Regions from separate parts of the Homo sapiens genome. Here regions 1, 3 and 4 are each linked to region 2. Evidence: promoter capture Hi-C in human tissues and cell types (Jung and others, 2019). All regions are on one chromosome and are shown on one strand. The core of a region is centred on a gene start or on the middle of the fragment in contact, and the rest is flanking DNA. Distances in the headings are between cores, read along the strand shown. Region 1 overlaps GRIK2 (glutamate ionotropic receptor kainate type subunit 2). Region 2 holds the start of GRIK2 (glutamate ionotropic receptor kainate type subunit 2). Region 3 overlaps GRIK2 (glutamate ionotropic receptor kainate type subunit 2). Region 4 overlaps GRIK2 (glutamate ionotropic receptor kainate type subunit 2).

What was found. The method cuts DNA at HindIII sites, captures the fragments that hold promoters and counts their contacts. A contact is called where the count stands out against the background at its distance.
Region 1: a contact is called between a fragment that was not itself captured here and the fragment with the promoter of GRIK2 in region 2, in 2 of the 25 tissues and cell types used here (H1 embryonic stem cells and IMR-90 fibroblasts).
Region 3: a fragment that was not itself captured here is called in contact with the fragment with the promoter of GRIK2 in region 2 in 1 of the 25 tissues and cell types used here (mesendoderm cells).
Region 4: a fragment that was not itself captured here is called in contact with the fragment with the promoter of GRIK2 in region 2 in 1 of the 25 tissues and cell types used here (H1 embryonic stem cells).

Annotation. Positions count from the first base shown.
Region 1 is chr6:101,744,447-101,747,432 of GRCh38, forward strand. All of the region lies in intron 7 of GRIK2 (glutamate ionotropic receptor kainate type subunit 2), which reads left to right. Among named protein-coding and RNA genes, the nearest start is that of GRIK2, 350 kb to the left of the region's middle. The HindIII fragment of the contact is 6,459 bases long and covers 1-2,986 here.
Region 2 is chr6:101,392,262-101,395,096 of GRCh38, forward strand. It overlaps GRIK2 (glutamate ionotropic receptor kainate type subunit 2), which reads left to right and starts at 1,447. Exons shown (of 17, transcript NM_021956.5): 1 at 1,447-1,576. The HindIII fragment of the contact is 9,322 bases long and covers 1,103-2,835 here.
Region 3 is chr6:101,774,022-101,776,884 of GRCh38, forward strand. All of the region lies in intron 7 of GRIK2 (glutamate ionotropic receptor kainate type subunit 2), which reads left to right. Among named protein-coding and RNA genes, the nearest start is that of GRIK2, 380 kb to the left of the region's middle. The HindIII fragment of the contact is 5,236 bases long and covers 1-2,863 here.
Region 4 is chr6:101,809,796-101,812,619 of GRCh38, forward strand. The region is part of intron 9 of GRIK2 (glutamate ionotropic receptor kainate type subunit 2); the gene reads left to right. Among named protein-coding and RNA genes, the nearest start is that of GRIK2, 420 kb to the left of the region's middle. The HindIII fragment of the contact is 5,014 bases long and covers 1-2,824 here.

The DNA of each region.
Region 1 (2,986 bases), core at 433-2,932, 350 kb after region 2:
AATGCCATTATTTCATTCTTTATTATGGCTGAGTAGTATTCCATGGTGTGTGTGTGTGTGTGTGTGTGCGTGCGCGCATATATATATATATATATATATATATATATATATATCACAATTTCTTTTTCTTTTTCTTTTTTTTTTTTTTTAAGATGGAGTTTCACTCTTGTTGCCCAGGCTGGAGTGCAATGGCACGATCTCAGCTCACTGCAACCTCTGCCTCCTGGGTTCAAGCGATTCTTCTGCCTCAGCCTCCCGAGTAGCTGAGATTACAGGCACACACCACTATGCCTGGCTAATTTTTTTGTATTTTTAGTAGAGATGGGGTTTCTCTATGTTGGTCAGGATGGTCTCGAACTCCTGACCTCAGGTAATCCGCCCACCTTGGCCTCCCAAAGTGCTGGGATTACAGGCAAGAGCCACTGCACCTGGCCCACAGTTTCTTAATCCATTTGTTGATTGATGGGCATATGGGCTGGTTCCATATGTTTGCAACTGCAAATTGTGAGCACTGTTTAATTCTAAGCTTCCTTGTAGGTAAGGCAAAAAGCAAGCAAAGTATTTTAGGCAATTCCCATAACTAAAGGGAAATTATTTATTATATTTGTCCATTTGAAAAGATATTTTTTCATGTTGTAAAAAATTTATTAAATGAATGCTAACATAAGGATTAATAAACAACATGATCTTAACATTCTTCATGGAGTAATTTAGTTTTTTTCAATTTTTGATAAAAAGCTGAAGGTATATCAACTTGTTATTCAGTGAAAGGATAACTATTGGTAGCGAAATATAAACCTGATCTAGATTTGGAGATCAAAATTTTGGATTTATACACTTTAGGGAATATATCAGAATGAATAACCTTCACATCACATTGAGTACTCTATGAAGAATCAGTTACATGGGCTGGACTTTTGATCAGACCCTCATAGAAAACAGCTGAGCATGATGGGCCTGGCATTCTATTGATGATTACCAATACAGTCATGTATTGCTTAAAAAGCACCTGGCCAAGTTATACATATTATAAAGGCTTTTTGGTATTCTCGTTGAGATGGATTGAGAAATATTTTATATATATTTTTTGAGAAACGTTTTATGTATGAATAATAGATGGGCAATATGAAATCACAGTATAAAATTTAGTTTTCTTTCAACTAGTCTCAAAATTTCATGCCCATTACAAAATTAAAACTAAGAAAAAAAATTAGCCATGTTTATTTTTTCTTTTTCTGTTGTCAGTGTTCTTTTAACACCTTAGCTCTTCAGGGTGCTCTCCCTGCAGCTATATTTTTAGATGTTTCCCAGTTTCTCTCCTCATCAGGATCATTTAATATTGTAACACTTCAATTTTTAAATAACTCCATTTTAATATTTTGTGATTGAGCTATTTCACCATATGAGAATCTTAGGTCTTTCTGTTTTCTGAAAGTTTTGAAATATGACTTAAAGCTTGAACTAAATGTATGGTTATATCCCACAATTCTCGTCTCCTAACCACCCTTCCCCAAGATTATTCAGAATGTCAAGATAACAAATTATATTTCGCGGAGTCTCATCATTCCAACTTCACCACGAGTTTTTCCTTATTGACCCAAAGTAACTTTACTGCTTTCTCTGTTGTCTGAGGCATTAAATTGCCAGCCAGCTAGGCAAGTGAAGAAATTAATTTATTTAGTTGAATAATAATTCTAGGAGAATTGAGTACTGTTTTTTCTGTCTCCTTTCTATCATTTGTCTAACTAATCTCTCTAGCATTTGGTGGTATAAATACAGAATAGTCATCTATTTTAATCATCTAACCAGGTAGTGTATATCATCCTCACAAATAGTGCAACTTAGATTCCAGTCTTATTGTTAACATCCTGCTACCTTCAAATATTTTATTTATTTATTGAGACAGAGTCTTACTTTTTGCCCAGGCTGGAGTGCAGTGGCATGATCTCGGCTCACTGCAACCTCTGCCTCCTGGGTTCAATTGATTCTTCTGCCTCAGCCTCCTGAGTAGCTGGGATAACAGGCATGTTCCACCATGCCTGGCTAATTTTTGTATTTTTAGTAGAGGCAGGGTTTCACCATGTTGGCCAGGCTGGTCTTGAACTCCTGACCTCAACTAATCAGCTCACCTCAGCCTCCCAAAGTGCTGGGATTACAGGAGTTAGCCACTGCGCCTGGCCTACCTTCAAATTTTTGTCTCAGTGGATAAGACAGATTTTGTTACCCATTTTCTTCTTCAAATTGACTTGTTTGTTCTATTAAGATATACATTTTCACTTCCACTTTCTAATATTGAATCCCTCAGTTTCCCTTTGTAAATACATATGTGCATATGTGTATGCACACACACACACATATATACTCCCAAACACACCCATATATTCTTTATTGTAATACCCCGCTTGTTGATATATAGTTATGGGAGGACAAAGGTATTTTCTGTAATATGGTTGTGTTCTCCTATGAATGCTTTGGGAAATTCCCTAATGTTTTTCTATCTGTGTCATATCTATTATATTTTTATAACCCTTGTTAACATTTTAATATTATTTTTATTTTCCCATAAATTTTATGTTTAAATCTTCTGAATTAGATCAGCAGTTCACCAGAGAAATAAGTCTTCCGTGTCCCTTTGAAAATACTTTCTAAGTCACAAATCCCCACCAAGTTTGGTATCTTAAATCATGATTCTGCCACCATCTATATAACCAGCTGCTCAGCATTTTTCCTTTCCTAAATCACACATTGAATGGGAGGAAGAATTTTAACACTTGGAACCCTTTAAAGGAACCCTTTAGCTTTCTGCCTAGGATGTCATGAATTCTAAAAATGGTTTGCATGTGTATTATGATGGCATCATTCATACCCACATGAATCAGCAGGCATGGATAGTTGTCAGCAGGTGTGATAAGGCTTGGCAGTTTTTCCATTATGTCCTGGATACATGCTGCAGAAAGGCAATGGCTTTTCTGTTTGGCCATGTCAA
Region 2 (2,835 bases), core at 197-2,696:
GCAAGTTCTGGTCTCCAGCTCAGACAACGGGTCCCTGGGGACTCAGAGCCTCTCTAATTCCCGGACCTCGGAATTAGATAGATAGTGGAGAACCACCAGGGACTGGAACTGCTAGGGGACTGCAGAGCCGTGGAATCCCCCCTGGCCCCTTCTTTATGCAGCCCGTTTGAAATGGTCTCTTGAGCCCAGTGCGCCTGGCCTGTTCCCGCTTAGCCTCACTTAAATCTCCTCGCGAATCTGAGCTGGCCAACTTCCTCTGGGGGAAACTGCTAAACTCAGCTCCAGTTAATATTGTAGGGCTGAGGATAAAATAGCAACGGTTTTGAATAGATGTTGACTTTTCCGACCCAGAGGAGCGGAACTCAGGGATTGTTTGCAAAAGCTAATCGTTTCCACAGTGAAGCAGGGAGAGCCTGGTGCGCTCACCGCCGCCAGCCCCTCCCTGGAAGCCAAGCTGCGGGAAGACTCTGGGACTCAGTTGCCCCTCCCCATCTCTGGCCTTTAAAAGAGTCCTCCCGAGAACTTGGACCAGTGGCCGCCAAACCAGGGCTGCTTCCCAGACTCCTGTCTCCAATCTTGGAGTCTGCGACCTCAGGTTCGGCGCCCACTAGATCTCGAATCCAACTTCTTTCTGAAATGTGTTTAGGTTGAGAGTTCCGGGGCCTGGGCGGGAGTTTGGTGGGGAGAGGGGAGTCTGCTATTTAAGGCGCCATACATACACAGAGACAGCCCGCCCGACCTCCTAACACTCAGGAAAAGTCAATTTCCAAGCATCTGTTCTCAATAATGGTGGCAGGGAGCAGGGCACTGTGACTCCCAGCATCTGAGGGAATACCCGCAGCAGCGCTACCAGAGCGCATTTGCTCTATGCGCTGGAGGTCGGGGTGGGAGGGTGCGCAGATCAAGATCTTTTTTTGCGAACCTCAGGGAAATGACCGTAGTTGGACTAAGAGGTCCACTTTGGAGACTACCAGCAGCCCTCCAAGCCCTGGCAGTGGAGAAGTTTCGTTGCTATGGTTTCGGAGAGGCATAAAAGCCATCACCCAGAAGCAAATGTGTTTGGGCTCCTTATATGTGTTGTCACCACCCAAGGCTAGGCAAATTCCTCGGCGCTTTGCATGCATCACTCACTCCCTGACAGAGCATCTTGGCCTTAGTCTCCCCATCCCAGGAGGCGGGTGTGCGCTAAGGGAGCGAAGTCCAGCCGGAGGCTTCGTAACATCCAAGTCTAGGGACACCAGGAATTCTCTCGCTCTAGCTCCTGTGGTCCAGGGGTGGGAGATGCCCCCGAGTGGCCGCGGCGGCCAGGAGCGTGCAGGGGCCACGGGGAAAGGAGCGCGGCGCCTTTAAAGCAAGAGGCGAGGAACCCCCGCCAGGAGGCGTGTCTGTCTCTGCCGCCGCCGCCGCCGCTGCTGCTCCTCGGTCACCGTCTTCGCCGCTGCCGTCACTCGCGCTCGGCGCCGGCGGCTGCGCTGGTCGGTCTGGTAGCTGGGGACTTTTCCGCCCGACCTCCTCCGGCTGCTCCTCCCCGAGGACCACCCCACCCCCTCCCCGCCCACCTCACCCCTAGCTCCAGGTAAGGACTCCCCGGCTGTGGGCTGCACTCCGGGCTCCTTCACGAGGTGTTTGTTTTCAAGAGGACGGGAGGGACTGCGGGTGGGCGAGGGGCATTTTCCACCTGGAGAGAAGGAAGAAGGCGAACAGTAGCGCTGCGGACGTCCGTGCGCTCGGGGCGCCCGCTGGACGGATTCACTGCGAGTCTTTGTCGGGCTTATCTCAGCCAATTCCCGTCAAGCATGCAAGTGGCTCTGTTGGCTGCAGTCGCCTATGTTCTCCACATAAAATGATTTAAGAAGTGGACGTGTCAGGAAGTGGCCTCAGCTACGGGGACTCACGCGAGGCGAAGAGAATGAGACAGATGGCAAGAAGCTGTGTGGCTGCCGGCGGGTCTGACGAACTCCCCATCCCTCCTTCTGCCCACCCATCCTTCCATTAACCCTACTCCTTAGTTCTGCGCTGAGGAAGTATATTTATTTTAACCGGCACCCGTATTAAGAGCTTCTGAAAAAACTTGGAGGGCGTCCCATTAGGGTAAGGAGTGGGCAGTGTTACCAGGGTGGATCATAAACCTCAAGAACTTTTAACGAACCACATCCTCTGATATTTTTACCTTTAAGGAGATAGAGTTTCTTTACCAAACAACACGACCGAGCTGAGGCTCCTTAGAGAATAATTTCCAATTTAGGCAATGGGGAATATTAGAAAACTTACTATTAGTAGCCTTTTGGTAATGCACAGATTATCTTCTATCGTTTATTCATCTCCATACTGTAAGTATTCTGTCATCAGAAATTATCTTATGGATTGATGATTATTTTCATTTCACGAGAGATGATTGGTTCATTTGAGTCTTAATTAGTCAGTTTAGTTACTGAAATAAATGCAATTGTATTTCAATCTTGATTTGTCTTAGTTCATTACTTTCTAACTTTATAGAGTCTATTCCTGTAACCACCAAGGCAGCCTATCAACTTCCAGTGGCCTTAAAAACTTTTGAGTCAAACAAACAACAAAAAATTGAAATGCACAAGAGCAAGGTGATAGAGAATTGAGCAATGTTTGGAAGTCTTATCTGTTTGTTTTCTCCTATTTAAACCCATTGAAAATCACACAGGCTGAAATTTAAAAAAAAAAGTTCTGGGATATGTAAATTTATTCCACTTCAATTTGTTAATTAAGATACACTTATTTTAGTGTCTAAAAATTAATCAAAACTCTAAATGTCATTAATCATCAATGCAGCAGAATGTTGCTGGAACAGCTGATAATGTGTTC
Region 3 (2,863 bases), core at 313-2,812, 380 kb after region 2:
TTCAGAATATCTCTCTAACTTTTTAAGTCTTTTTCAAATCATGCTTACAGATGGCCTTTGCTATAATTTAATTTTTAGGTTATCAGTTTTTATTGGCATTTGGAATTAATACTTACGTGAATATTTGAACTCATGGACCTAAATTTCTAGTGTATTTTTGGTTTGCATACACCTAGGTCCCAAATTTAGAAAAAAATCACAGTCTGTTAACACCGTAAAAATCTATTTTAATTCATCATATTGAAAAAGGTAAATATAAACAACATTGATGAATATAAATTTTTAAATGCAAGTACCTAATCTGAGCTGCAAATATCAAGATAATTGGATGTATTGGAGACCAGCTGGAAGTGCAAAGAATACTTCCCCTTGGTATTGACTCTTCTCTAAATCAATAGCGGTTCCAAATGTAGTAAAAAGCGGACAAGATTTAACAGGTTCTAAATTATTAAGGCCAGTGCATTGTTGCTAGAGAGTTCATTAACAATCTCATCAATACAATGTGGTTCATGGACATTAGTAAGAGCTTTGTGTAACATTTTAAAACAGAATGAGATATCTCAATGGACTGATCTTAGTAAAAAAAATTTAATTAGGTAAGAATAATTACATTAGTTAAATGGAACTTTTAATTGAAAACTTGTTGGCATTTTCTTACCTGCTTCACAGCTGTCCTTTAATCATTTATATTTAAAAAGTGAAGAGTTTCTGTACATGATGTTTGAAAATTATCTAAACATCTTGGACTTTTTGTATAAACGTTTAAAGGAGTTTAGATAATGTGGCAGTAAAAACAAATAGGATTTTCTGCTTGCGGAATGGTACATTTAAAAGATATATATATCAGAAAGAAAAGTTATAGAGAAAATATGTATGGTAAGTATATACTATTCTTGGGAAAAAGGCAAAGTAGTCATTTTCTGAAGCTTTAACATTTATAACTTTAAAACTTCATGTATTGAACATCATTCCTTATGAAGCTTTAAAATCTTACAGGGAAATAATACTGTTTATAAAATTATCTTGTTAAAGAAAATGGTATCCAACAAGAGTTTTTGAAAGAATGAAAGCCCGTATTTGTGTAAGATAAACATAAAGGGCCAATGGAAACTCTTATTGTTAAAATTAGTGTCAGCCACATTTTAGGCTGTATTTACTGGTTGTTGTTCAAAATAAGCTAATTGGCAATCACTATTTTTTGGTAGCTTTCAGCTTAAGCCAGAGAGCACTGGTTTGGAGAGACATAGACATTTATTCAAATTCACAGGAACACTAAACAAATGGATTTGTTAATTATTCATGACATTAATTCTGGCCAAGACAGTTTCTTATCTGAATCTCAGCAACCACTATCACTCAGTGCTGCCTACTTTACTTGATCTTCAGAACATTGCTGAATTTGAATATTCTTCCTAATTCATCAATTTGTCTCTTCCTTTCAGCCCTCATGGGTACTCAATGACACACATGTAGAGACAAAAATCTTTATATATATATGTGTGTATATATATGTATATATATGTGTGTGAGATATATATATACACACACACACATTACTGTATAGTTTATTTATAATAAACTATAAATTCATTTAGAAACAAGACAGAGGCTGTACTCACATTCCCCGCCCCGGTCTGAGCTGCTGACAGATTTGGCTCATTGTATTTCTAGGAGGTAATACATTCTAGCTGTATGGCAAAGTGTGAAGATACAGATTTCTTCATATATATATGGAAACAATATATATATGTGTGTATATGGAAATTATATATGTGTATATATATGGAATATAGATATATATATATGGAGAGAGAGAGAGAGAGATGTGGTCTTACTTTGCCACCCAGGCTGGAGTGCAGTGGCACTATCTTGGCTCACTAAAAATTCATATATTTTTAAAGGTATTTCATCATGCAGTTTCTGAAATTTTCTTTAATGCATTTAATTTGTAATAAAATCTCTCTGGTAGTTCAAAAACATAAGTCATAAGCAGATTTGTGTTTTCACTGTGTAAGAGGAGGCAAAAGGAGGTAAAATGCTGTAATATTGGAGAATGACTTTGGGTAGGAAAGAAAGAATTTTAGTTTTCTTCTTCGAAGAATGAGGAGGCCAGGCTGAGATTTAATGTACATGAGAAGTTTAACAGCAATGAAGGTGAAACAACAAAGAAAAGACCATAATATAAATATTGGCAGGTTTTATTTGTTCAGGCAGTAATTTGCTAGGATATGAACACAGTCAATGGCCTAAGAATAATTACTTTTGATTACCCTTATTAATTTGTATGAAATGTTCATACAATAGTTTGTTAAGCAAGCACACAACATTATAAAGAATTATGGAGAGAGACAGACATATGTAGAATGTAAAGAGTAAATAATTATGCAGAGAAGACAGACAAATAAGGGTTATGGTTATATTACAAAACCGGTATAAAATCAGAGTAAAATGTGGATTTTCTAGTAATATGAATGTTAGCCACAGGATGCCTTAAAATCCACCTGATTCAATCCCCTCCTTTTATAGATGAAGAAACTGAAGACTAGAAAAAATAATAGTCATACTTGTCCAAGTTTACATGCTGTAGTGAAATTATCTGTGCAATAGCAGTCCTTCATTTAATATTAAATACAAGACATTATAATATTTTACCACTCATCTTTATTCTTGAATTCTAAATTTGTCAGTAACTTATATGTACTCAATTTTTTATTTTTTGGCATTCTGAGTTCAACTGAATTGTAGCGTCATGTACATAACACATTGTGTAGGGATCAGGTTATTATATGTTAATTTCCTCCATGCTCCTTTGCCATCTAGAACCTGATCTGCTGTTTTAAACAGCATGAGGCCTGTTCTCCCA
Region 4 (2,824 bases), core at 60-2,559, 420 kb after region 2:
CTCTTATATAGAATTCATTATAAACCCTGTCTCAGAACTGTACCGACATTTTTGTGTGTCAGTGTGTATAGTTATTATTTTGTTTGGCAACTTTACACTTTCAGGACGATAAAATATTTCAGAAAACTATTTATGAATGATGTTTATGTTTAGAAATCAATCAGATTGCCTTATTTGAGGTCACAGAATTTATTGTTTTGGTTCCCAAAAAGTCTTATTTTGGCCCACCAATGAATATTAAATATTGGCTTTTTTCTTTTAACCACTAAATTTGAATTAACATATATATATGTATAAATTACAATTATGATATATATAACATAATTGTAATTGATTGATTTGATTTCAAATCAAATCAAATCTGACCTACATTTTTATCTGTGGAAAAATGGCTTTTAACTGAATGGTATCGTATTTTCATATTTGGGAACATGTAATTCATTAATTCAAACATTATTTAAAAAATCAAAATCACAACCTGTCTGTTAACTCTTTAATTGTGCTTAGCATTAAATTGCCCTAAACTAAAATAAAAATCTTAAATGAGAAAAATCAGTGTTTAGTTAGATTATTAATTCCTTTCCATGAGATGATTATATACTTACTGATTTATTGTACTCATATTAGCACTATAGTTCTCGAATGGTAAAATCCGAGATCCTATGCACACTAGTTGAGAGTTTCAGGACGCTGATTACGAAAGCGTTCTTTGCCCTATCCTTATAGGCCAATTAACTTATATCTGAAGGTCAGCCAATTTCCAGACAATTGCTCTGGACTCAAATTCTAGCTGGCAGGAAGCACATAGGCTTTGCTGTAAAATATTTCTTTTTGTTTTCTAGAGCTCAGGTGCCAATGCTTAAGTGCTCTCTTTTCAACACTTAGTTCAATGGAAGTAAACAGTTATTAAACTTCGGTGTCAAGGGTTATTAGACGGTAATGCAACTAACTATCTCTACTTTTCATTTAACTATTCATCATTTGAAGGAGTGAAGTAAGGAAAACAAAAGTCTCTAATTTCCCACTAATAGTGAGAAAACTAATCTGTTGAAAAAAATTTCTGTACCCAATATTCATGCATTGTATTGGCTTGAGAAACCCAGGTTTTCAGAAATAATAGGTATATGAGTTAATAGAGAAATAAACAGTCCACTAGTGTATATTCAGTCAATTGCAGGAAACATCTTTCATACGTAAATCAGCATTTAATATAAATCTCTTTCTTATGCTTTCTATTTCTCAATTCCCTCAAACAGTACTATCGGGGTGCCAACTTTTTTCCAAGGGAAGTAGTCAATATACTTCAAGGAAAACTATACTTTGTAGGTCATATGGTTGGGGGCAACTCATTACTGGAAAGAAATTTCTTTAAGCAAACATATTCTAAGATGGAGAGTCTGCATTGTGCTAAGACTGTTGGAAACCCATGTACAGTGTGGTTTCTCATTATCATCACACAGGATCTCTGTGGAAAACTATGGCTTATATTCTTTATTCAAGGCTGACACATTCTCCTGACATTAAGTCAAAACAATGTACAATCAAATAACTTTCTTTTTTACATTTTTACATTGTTGTCTAATGGAAAACTATATTGCTTCTTTTTCCATCTACCAACATCCAGTGAATATTTTGTGAGTCAATGCCAGTAAGAAAGTATAAAGAGAATTTTGATAGATTTGTATCAGGTATTTTTTAGTGGAGAATTTAAATTATTTCTTAATTTAAAATAAATTTAACTTTATTTGGAACTAATATTTTTAAAACTAACTGGGAATGTTTATTTTGTTCCTACTTGAAAAATTTCTTGTATACATATCAAGCAAATTATTTCCATAAATTTCATAGAAAATAAGAAATGTGTGACATTGATCCGGTGTACACAAAACAGAGCTAACATGCATCTTTAGAAGAAAAGATGCTACTTTCAGAGGTTAACAATTATATAGCCCAATAGAGGAAATAGAAACATTTTTTGGATTTAAAGTAGTAATATGAGTTACAAAACAAAATTTGTACTGAGAAAACTGTCACCAAAAATAAACAAATAAACAATAAAGAAGCAACTAATTAATAAGATAAATAATTTAAAAATTATTCTGAAAACTGTTGTTTTCTACCTAGAAAAAAATACACAGAAACCAAAGAGAAAATATACTTATAAAACAAAATTATATGAATAATTTACACATTCCTGAAAAACAAAACCTATAGTGTAAAATATTTATTTAAAATACTTATAAAATATAATTAGGAAAAAATGGAAATTCATAGTAAAGGTATGTGGCATAATATTTCAAACATTAAATATGATATTGAGATAGATCTTAAAACATTAAGAATAACACAAAAAACATGAAGATAAAATATGGAAAACAAAATATGTAATTATAAAAGAATAGACACATATGTATGTTCAACATTTGCCAAATGAATGAATGATATTGGAAAGTCAACCAAAAAAGTCTGAAAGTTTTTATCATGGAGTAATTCACTCACTTACTCTATTTATTTATTCAATAAATATTCATTGGATATTTATTATATAATTTAAAGATTGATGAAATGTTTCGTTTTGTGAAGGCACTTAGAGTTTAACACAGCAGGATCAATAAAAATGAAATATAATTTGGATTCAAAGCAATACATAAGTGGCATTTCTGAGATGAGGAAAATAAAACATTTATTTCTGTTCAATAAATATTATTATTTATGTTCAATAAATAAAACGTTTATTGGTTATATAACCAGTATGTTCAGAGATCTCACATATAAAGCCCGTAGGATGTCCTATATTCAAAGGCCTTGGGGTAAAAAGATGAGT